2 separate regions of the Homo sapiens genome follow, and region 2 is linked to region 1. The links are contacts of gene promoters, found by promoter capture Hi-C in human tissues and cell types (Jung and others, 2019). All regions are on one chromosome and are shown on one strand. Each heading gives the region's core, a stretch centred on a gene start or on the middle of the fragment in contact. The rest is flanking DNA. Distances are from core to core; before and after follow the strand shown. Region 1 holds the start of CRB2 (crumbs cell polarity complex component 2). Region 2 has its middle 18 kb from the start of STRBP.

Region 1 (5,368 bases), core at 2,712-5,211:
GCTGGTCTCGAACTCCTGATCTCAGGTGATCCGCCCACCTCGGCTCCCAAAGTGCTGGGATTACAGGCATGAGACACAGCGCCCGGCCCTTTATGTATTAATTTAACCAACACTCATTTAACTCTTGACATTGCCAGACACTTTTCTAAATGCTTGATGAGTAATTATTTAATCCTCAAGACAAGTCTATGCAGTAAGGTGCAGTTGCTGTCTCTTTTTTTTACCAGGGAGCTAACTGAGGCACAGAGAGGTGACTTACCCAAGGCTGGAGTCGGGCAGACCCAACTCGAATCCTGCCAGGCACTGGTGCTGGGCCAACCTCACTTCTCTGTGCCTTGGTTTCCTCATCCATAGAATGGGGCCAGTGCTGACCTTGCAGTGCTGCTGGGAAGTGGAGAAGCCGGGATTTGAATCAGCATCTGTGCACCTCACCACTGGCCTATAGTGTCTGCCTCTGATGTTTCAGTTAGGGCATTGGGTTGGTTTTCTTTTGGAAGTTACAAGCATACATATGTTGAGACAAGGTTAAGTGCCACTGGTGGAGAGCCTGTGAGAGCTGGGCTGGGAGGGAGTGGAGGTCTGGTCACTGAAGCTGGGGCATGGACACGCTTGTCCAGGGAGGAATGTGGAGTGAGGAGGGCAGGGGGCTGGAGACAGACCCGGACAGGTCACAACATTCTGGGAGGAGGAGTGAGGAACGGTTAACAAGGTAGAGAGACCAGGGTAGCAGGGGTTGGGGAGCCCACAGGGACAGAGTTCCAAGAAGGAGGGCATGGGTGACAATGGAGAAGGCCTTAGAGAAACCCAGTGAGGTCAGGGCTGATGGTGGCCCCAGACTCAGACACAGAGGGAGCAGGGGGACCTGGGCCGTGAGAGCCGAAGGGGCCTCAGCTGGAGCTGCAGTCACTCTCACCCCAATACCCAATGTAGGGAGAAGGAGGGGAAGAAACACCCCAACCTCCATCTCCTCTCTCCCTGGCATCTCCGGCCTGTGCCTCCCACTGGCTCACCTTTCCAGGAAGCAGATGGAAGGAAGCCAGCATGACACAGCCCACAGGTGCCAGCAGGGCAAGGGCGGCTCTGGGTGGGGAGTAGGGACAAACAGAACAACCAGTGAGACCCTGAGAAGGGAGATGTGAGACCCTGGGGAATGATCCAGAGCAGGAGTCACCTGGAAGGGTCTGAAGGGGTTCCTTCTGGTGGGCTCCTCAGTGGGGAGGGTCACTATCCTCCCACGACGAGGCTCTGACAGCAGCCGCCCAGTCCTTGCAATGTTCTCAGGCAGATGCTGTGATGATCCCATTTACAGATGGGAGAACTAAGACGCAGAAAAGGAACAGACCAACAAAAGCTCACCTAAGGGCAGAGAGCAGGAACCGGATTCAAACCCAGGTCTGCCTGATGCCAAAGCTGGGACTCCCAACCACTGAACCTTGCTGTCGCATGTGCCCATCAGCTTGAGAGTTGGTGGGAATCCCGGCCCAGGACAGCGTCCCCTCAGCCAGGGAGGTGGCAGCAAGTCATGCTCAGGCTAGTGGAGGGGCAGTTAGTAACCTGCAGTCGGAGGTTCACCAGTGGAAAGGCTGGAGTCGGGCAGACCCAACTCGAATCCTGCCAGGCACTGGTGCTGGGCTGCTCACCTCTCTGTGCCTCGGTTTCCTCATCCATAGAATGGGGCCAATGCTGACTTTGCAGTGCTGCTGGTGGGTGGGGGGGGGGTAAACTGAGGTTATGTCGATTCCCTTCCCAGGTGGGGAGGACAGGGGAAGTGGATGCACCTGGGGGACCATCTCAGAGGAGCTGGCCCACTCTTACTGCCTTCTCCAGATCCGGACCAGGGAGCGGTCAAGATGGTGTGCCCTTGTCTGACCTCCGTCCTGCCTGCTGTCCAGCGACTCCCTGGCTTCCTCCCCGTCACGTGGGACTCCTGTACCCGGTGCTGTCGGGGGAGCCCCCCTCCATACCCTCCAGACCTCACAAGACACTTCCAGGTCTGGCCACAAGGTGGAGTGTGGCGGCTGCAGGACAGTGCTGGGGGCCGGGCTGCAGAGGAGACTGGACCTGCGCCGGGTGACCTCCCCGCTCTGTGAAAGTGTGGGAGTTTGTGTCTGTGCATCCAGAGAACCAGAGGGTGGTGGTTGACTTGCCGTGCTCCCCCCAGCCCCCCATTGGGATTGCCTGGGTCTCTGGGGGATCACTGAGAAGCTGGATAAAGAGAGCTGGCACTGTCGCCTTGGCTCACTAACGCCACCATTTTACAGGTGAGGAGACTGAGGCCCAGAGAAGGAAGTCACGTGCTGAGGTCACCGGCTAATCAGTGGCTGAGCTGGGCTCGAACCCAGATCTCTTACGCTGTGAGGCCTCTGCTTTTCCTGTGGCATGGAGAGGGGCTTCTCCCACCTGGGGAGAGGGATCCTGTTGTATTGGAGAGGCAGGGGATTAAAGATGGACTGAGAGAGGTTAGTGTCCCAGAAACCAAGGGGCAATCCCTGCCCTGGAGAGAACAGGCCTCAAGGGCAGGGATGGGGCAGGGGCAGTGGATAAGGAGTCTACCCAGGCCTTTTTGGGTTCCCTCCTTTGGTCCCTGGGGACCCAGGGCTGTGGCACTTGCCCCGGGCTAGAGGGTCGGCCAGGGCCTGTGTGGTGCCCACTGCTCCCTCCCCTGCACTGCAGGGGACCCTTGCCCATCCCTCTAGCTCATCTGGACCTCCCTCAATGGCTCCTGCTGTCTTTCCAGGCTGTGTCCTCCCGTGTCAGGGACACATCCCAGAGCCCAGGGCCTGCGTGGGCTGTATCCACGGTTACTGAATAGGGACAAACAGGCATGTATTGGCAGGGGCCGGTGGCTCATTTCAGGAAAGTCCCTTCAGCAAGAGGATTCTCTCCCCACTGGGGCTGAGGGTGGTAGAAGAAAGGAATGTTGTTCTATGTTGTAGTGTCTCTGAGATGACCTGGCTTCCTGAACCAGGTCCCCCTGAAGAGCTCCTCCTGTCCACCCCAACAAGAGGCCAGCTGGAGAGCAAGCAAACATCGAGTGCAGCAGGAGACTATAAGGTTAGACAACAAGAAGGACTTCCTGGCAGGGGAGAGCAATGCTTGCTTGGTTAGAGCTGCCTTTCAGTAGAATGGGCTGCTTTGGATTGCAGTGAGGTCGCTGGAGTTGCAAACAGCAGAGCCAGAGATCAAGGTCAAGTGGAAGAAAGCTGGGAAAGGTTCAGTTTGGCTGGTGAAGGGTGGAGAGGGTAAAGGGAGGCAGGGACCACCGTGGTGCAGGGGTGAGGTGCCCTGCAGGGAGCTGATCCTGAGGCCGATGGTGGGAGGAGCTGTGTGTGGTCGGGTGGGACGGGGTGGGGACAGCAGGAGACACTGAGAAGGTGGCATGGCCAGGAGCTAGGGGCTGACCGAGTGTGGGGAGGGGGGAGTGGGGAGGGGGCGTTGGGCTGCCCGATGGGAGGTGCCTTGGCTCCGATGGGAGCACTGGGGAGCAGCAGGTGGGGGGACGAGCTGGGTGGGAGGGGCTGCAGCTTCCCAGCAGAGACAGGGTCTGGGAGGCGACTGGACTCGAAGGCCTGGGCTTGGGAGAGAGGCCCGGGCTGGAGAGGTGGGGAGGGGGATCCAGGAGAGGGGATAACTAAGGACTTGGGAGTAGCTGGCATCACCTGGTGAGACGAGAGTCCTGAACAGCCCCCTCTCCAAGGACAGAAATTTCTCCAAGGAGGCTGACCTGAGAGGTGGGAGGAGAGTGGGGCAGAGGGTCAGGAGGGAGAAACCAGTGGGTGCCAAGACCAGGTCAGCCCCACAGGCTAGGGGGCTTGAGGACTTGGGGCTGATGTCTAGGGACGTCCACGAGGTGGAGCAGCCCAGGAGGCCTGGGTGGGAGGAGGAGGCGGTGGCGGGGAGGGGAGGGAGGGGCTGGGCCTCTGTCCACAGCATTAGTGCTGGTTGGAGGGACGAGGGGGGTGCGGAGCCAGCCAGGCCGCCCTCCCGTTCTCACAGCAGCCGAGCAGAGCGCAGAGCGGGCTGCCATGGCGCTGGCCAGGCCTGGGACCCCGGACCCCCAGGCCCTGGCCTCTGTCCTGCTACTGCTGCTCTGGGCCCCTGCCCTTTCCCTCCTGGCTGGTGAGTTGGGGCCCATGTCTGGAGGGGCCTGGGAGAGGGTCTGTCCCCCAAGACAGATACCCCAAGCCTTGGCTGCTGGGGTGGTGGGTGGGCTGGTCCGCGTGGGTGCAGGCCTGAGCTGTGGGGTGCACAGGAGTGCGCGGCTGTGGCCCCCAGACTCTGTGGGGCTCCACGGAGGTGAGTGTGTTCTGAGGCTCGGGGCTGTTTCATGTTGAGGGGGGTTGTAAGTTTCGGGGTTGGGGGATCGGGGGCTGGGCATGATTTGGGGGAGCTGATGCGGGTGAGGGATGGGGTGCGTGTTTTGGGAGGTGCTGTGTTGCATCCTGTAAAGGGCTGGGGGACTTCTGGGTTTCTAGGGGCTGAGTTTGGGGAGTTGCAGGTGGCATAAGCCTCACCCCAGAGCTTGTTCTGTGTCGCATGCTGGGTTGTGGGGCACAGGTTGTGGGTGTGTTAGAGTTGGGAGGTGGATGAGCTGTCTGGGGTGAGCCGTGAGTTGTGTCCGAGGAGTTGGGTGTGGTGAGCTGTGTCCTAGCACACGCTGTGGGGTGTAGGTTGTCCAGGGTTGAACTAGGTCTTTGCTCTCAACATGAGGGGTGTGGGATGTGCACAGCCGACCCCAACTCGGGACTGAGTGGAGAAGCGTGAGGGAGACTCAGGGAGCTGGGTGCCTGCCCGCACCCCTCCATTTGTGCGGTAGCCCTGCCTGTGCTGAGGGCTGCTGGGGATGCTCTGGGTCCCTGTGGGGTGGCTGGGGATTTGGGAACATGTGTGTGTCCCCTGCTGCCCCCTCCCCAGCATTCCAAGGCCAATCTGAAAGGGCTCCCTGAAGCCAGACCACATTTGCCAAGCCCTTTTTGCTTTTGTCCAAGCTCTCGGAGCCTGGAATTCCTCCTGGGGGGTCCAAGGGAACGCTTGGTGTTAGTTACTATAGTTACAGGGGCCGGGCCTGGGAAGTCCCCTGCCCCCACCACCACAGGCTGGGGAGGGAGCCAAGGAGGGCCTGGGCTCTCCTGAGGCTGGGGGAGCCCTCCCTGCCCCAGAGCTCCACAGGCTGTAGGGTGTGGGGGCCAAGTGTCTCCCAGTCCCACCTGGGGACCCTCATGTTTCCCGCACTCACAAAGCTTTCATTTCCTATCCTCTCTATGGGGCCCTAGGGAGGATGAGGACCCCATTTTGCAGTGAAGGAAACCAAGGCTCAGAGAGGGACGGGGACTTATGAGCTGGGCTCTGCTGGCAGGCGACTTGGGCT
Region 2 (4,774 bases), core at 1,707-4,206, 70 kb before region 1:
ACTTGTGATTCACTACTTCTTCACCAGGGTCCCCAATATCTCCATAAAGGTCACCACAGTTCACCCAGTTGCTCATGCCAAAAGCTTTGAAATTCTCTTTAATCTTTTTTTTTTTTTTTTTTTGAAATAGAGTCTCACTCCGTCGCCCAGGCTGGAGTGCCCAGCCTGGGCAACATAGGGAGACCTCAACCCTACAAAAAATATTTAAAAATTAGCCAGGTGCCACGTCATGCATCTGTGGTCCCAGGTACTTGAGACTGCTTGAGCCCAGGAGTTCAAGGCTGCAGTGAGCCGTGATCACACCACTGCACTGCAGCCTGGGCAACAGAGCAAGACCCTGTCTCAAAAATAAGTAAGAGGCCGGGTACGGTGGCTCATGCCTGTAATCCCAGCACTTTGGGAGGCCGAGGCGGGTGCATCACTTGAGGTCAGGAGTTTGAGACCAGCCTGGCCAACATGGTAAAACCCTGTCTCCACTAAAAATACAAAAATTAGCTGGGCATGGTGGCTCATGCCTGTAATCCCAGCTACTGGGGGGAGGCTGGGGCATGAGAATCACTTGAACCCAGGAGGCTTGAACCTGGGAGGTTGCAGTAAGTGGAGATCGTGCCACTGCACTCCAGCTTGAGCAACAGAGTGAGACTCTATCTCAATTAAAAAAATAAAAAATAGGGCCAGGGGCGGTCAGTGGCTCACGCCTGTAATCCCAGCACTTTGAGAGGCCGAGGCAGGCGGATCACGAGGTCAGGAGTTCGAGACCAGCCTGACCAACATGGTGAAACTCCATCTCTACTAAAAATACAAAAAATAGCTAGGCGTGGTGGTGTGCACCTGTAATCCCAGCTACTCAGGAGGCTGAGGCAGGAGAATCGCTTGAACTCAGGAGACAGAGGTTGCAGTGAACTGAGATCGTGCCACTGCACTCCAGCCCGGATGACAGAGCGAGACTCCATCTCAAAAAAATATAAATAAATAAAATAAAAATAACAAATAAATAAATAAATAAATAAGAATCCTTGCAATTTCTACCTCCTCTCTCTTAGAACACTGCTCTGAGTCCTCCACGCTGAGAAGTCAAAGATGAAAGACTGCGCTGGAGAGAGAGACACAGCTGTTGCCGGTGAGCCCAGCCCCCAGCCACCCCGCCAGCTGAAAGCAGCTGTATGAGGTGCACAGGAGAGACCTGCAGAAGAGCTGCCCAGGCATTCCACAGAATCATGAGAAATGATGAATCGTTTTTTAAAGCAATTAAGCTTTGGGGCTCTTTTGTTTCACCGTAAAAATAACTGATACAATCTAGATAGTTCCAGTGGCCTCCATTCTAGGTTTTTTTTTCTCCAGTCTTGCAACTCCAGTGCACCACCACGTGTCACCAGAATGGTCATTCTAACTTGAACTCTCACTGGATTAAAAATTTTGTTAAAAGTCTTTAGTGGCTCAGCCTGGCGCGGTGGCTCACGCCTGTAATCCCAGCACTCTGGGAGGCCGAGGCGGGCGGATCACGAGGTCAGGAGATGGAGACCATCCTGGCTAACACCGTGAAACCCCGTCTCTACTAAAAATACAAAAAAGTAGCCGGACGTGGCAGCGGGCGCCTGTAGTCCCAGCTACTCGGGAGGCTGAGGCAGGAGAATGGCATGAACCTGGGAGGCGGAGCTTGCAGTGAGCCAAGATCGTGCCACTGCACTCAAGCCTGGGTGACAGAGCGAGGCTCCATCTCAAAAAAAAAAAAAAAAAAAAAAGAAAAAAGAAAAGAAAAAGAAGTCTTCAGTGGCTCTCCTTCTTTTTTTCCTTTTGTTTAGAGACAGGGTTTCACTCTGTCCCCCAGGCTAGAGTGCAGTGGCTGGATCAACTGGACTCAAGAAATCTTTTTTGTTGAAATGGATGTCTCACTATGTTGCCCAAGCTGATCTCGAACTCCTGGCCTCAAGTGATTCTCCCACCTCAGCCTCCTGAGTCACTGGGATTACAGGAAGTGGCTCCACATTTTATGAGATAACACTGAGCCTCCGAATTGTAGTGTATGAAACCTTCTGTGGCCCAGCCTCTGCAGACCTCTTTGGTCTCATCTCCAAGTACCATGGCACCCTCTGTGAGTTAGGCCACTGCTAGGAGGAACAGTTTACCTGTGGAGCTTCGAAAAATTCCAGTGCTCGGGCTCCAGCACCAGACACTCAGATTTAATTGGTCTGAAATGGGACCCGGGCAACAGTATTTTTTAAAAGCTCCCCAGTGGATGCTAATATATACCCAGGGTTGAGAACCATTCAGCTAGAGGATCCAAAAGTGTATTTTAAAATTGCTGATCTTGCCTTCAAGGAAATTCAAAAGCTTCAAGGAAAGACTAAACTATGCTGTGTGCCCTTTTAGCATTAAGTAAGCGATATTGTGTTTTAAGTTTTGGGAAATTGGTAATAGACGCTATGAGAACATTCTTTAATTATTTGAAACATCAATTTATCAATATTTTATTTCCTCAGTGTTAGACTCACCCTTTTCATAGTCTAATGTTTCTGATCAAATTCCACCTTATTATTGAATGTATGCATTTAATGCTTCTTTATTTTACGGAAAACTAGTAATTTCACTAAAGGTGTTTCTTATTGCCAGCAGTGATCACAATCAAAGAAACATCTTTCTGGGACATGGCATTTTTCCATGTGCAAAGTGCTGTAACTTCTTTGATCCCAATTGATCTTTCCATCAACCTGGTGAGGTGGAGATTTTTAACTTCATTTTATGTGCCATAACTGCTACAACTTATTGAGCACTTACCACTGTTCTAAGTACTTTGCAAATACTATCTCATTTAAGCCCTACAGCAACCAGTAATGTGACCATATTTTATGCACTGGGAAGCTGAGGCAGAGATGTTAGGTCAGTTGCCTAGGGTCATGATCACACAGCTGAGAGAGGACAGGGCTGTGTGACCATGAGGAAAGGATACTACAGTCCTCAGGGACTCTGAGCATGCCATGCGGTTTTCAGGAGATGGTCCTTCTGCTTGTTTCTCAGAATAAAGTGCAGATGTCTTAATATGGCATTTGAAGCCTTTTGCAATTCTTCCCAAATGTTTATTGCAATGGTAATAAAAAATCCAGCCGGGCACAGTGGCTCATACCTGAATCCCAGCACTTTGAGAGGCCAAGGCAGTCAGATCATGAGGTCAGGAGATTGAGACCATCCTGGTTAACATGGTGAAACCTTGTCTCTGCTAAAAATACAAAAAATTAGCTAGGCGTGATGGCACGTGCCTGTAGTCCCAGCTACTAGGGAGGCTGAGGCATGAGAATCGCTTGAACCCGGGAGGCAGAGGTTGCAGTGAGCCGAGATCGCATCACTAAACTCCAGCCTGGGTGACAGAGTGAGACTCCATCTCAAAAAAAAAAAAAAAAGAAAATCCACAACCCCCTAATAAAGAAAGCTGAGAATAAGGATCCCAGTAATTAAGGGCGACTGAATGCCAGGCACTTTGCACATATTATCTCTAATCCTCCTAACAACATTGTGTGAGGGGATTTGCAGGGGCCTGGGTCGGTTTTGCTGTTAGGCACCCCTCCCCTTTCTTCTGGATTGTCTTCTGGGTATCATCCTACAGGCCCCTGTATTTTCGGTCTTGTCAGGGCTGTCAATCAGGATGCTTCACCCTTCTCTGGGCAAGAGGTGTTCATCACACTCTTTAGGAATTTGAACCTTGAACACAGCTATACATCATCAGAAAAAAAAATGGGCAGAGTTGAATTATCCCAGGGACAAAGTCCTGTTGATGGTAATAATAGTATTTATTGGGAATTTACAAGTGTGAGCACAATAAGAGTTGTACATATATTAATTCATTTCATCCTGCAAACAGTTCTTTCAAGGAGTCCCTGATATACTCCCTGTCTTCCCTAACAGATGGACAAACCAAGGCAACAAAACAAGGTCGTGCAGGTTTATGGGTAGAGCTAGATTTGAACATAGACAGCCCGATGCAGAACCTCTTGCTTCTGCAGTCACTCCATGGCTTCTCAGCTGGTCTTTTCTGTAGATTCTGTCCCTTGGGCCTTTTCTTTCTGAGTCTAGTTCTTAGTCTGTCCCTTTAATTCAGTCATCTACACCACAGGCTTGCTATTAATCCCCTTTTTGACTCATGAGGCTGAGTAGGTTTCTGTTGCTGGTGACTACAAAACCCTAAATAATTAAAGTCTTGTTATGCCTGCTTGCAGGTGAGAGGTCTGATGCTCTGGAGAGGTGAACAGATGAAAATCACTAGCTACTAATAGTAATAATAATAATAGCAACGGTAATAATGATAGTAACAGATAACATTTATTTGAGTTACTTAGCATTTAATGAGTTCTTACTACAAGGCAGTCTCTGTGCTAGGGAATTTATATAAATTATCTCACTTAAACTTCCCAATAACCCTAAAAGGTAAAACTTTTTAAATTGAGATATAATTCACTTACCACAAAATTCACTCCGTGAAAGTGTACACTTCAGTGGATTTTAGAGTATTCACAGGATTGAGCAACTATCACCACTATTTAATTCCAGAATATTTTCATCACCCCATATAGAAATCCTGTGCCCGTTAATTAGCCTTCAATCAGCTGGGCGCGGTGGCTCACACCTGTAATCCCAGCACTCTGGGAGGCCGAGGCGGGTGGATCACGAGATCAGGAGATCGAGACCATCCTGGCTAACATGGTGAAACCCCGACTCTACTAAAAAAAATTTTTTTAAATAAAAAAAAATTAGCCGGGCATGGTGGCGGGCGCCTGTAGTCCCA

Evidence for each region. Contacts are between HindIII fragments. The study calls those that stand out against the background at their distance.
Region 2: a fragment that was not itself captured here is called in contact with the fragment with the promoter of CRB2 in region 1 in 3 of the 25 tissues and cell types used here (bladder, liver and mesendoderm cells).

What each region holds. Positions count from the first base shown.
Region 1 is chr9:123,352,236-123,357,603 of GRCh38, forward strand. It overlaps CRB2 (crumbs cell polarity complex component 2), which reads left to right and starts at 3,962. Exons shown (of 13, transcript NM_173689.7): 1 at 3,962-4,119. The coding sequence starts at 4,026. RefSeq lists silencers at 1,783-1,892, 1,913-1,962 and enhancers at 1,925-2,424, 2,093-2,262. The HindIII fragment of the contact is 16,000 bases long and covers 1-5,368 here.
Region 2 is chr9:123,283,721-123,288,494 of GRCh38, forward strand. No RefSeq gene overlaps it. Among named protein-coding and RNA genes, the nearest start is that of STRBP, 18 kb to the left of the region's middle. The HindIII fragment of the contact is 4,577 bases long and covers 669-4,774 here.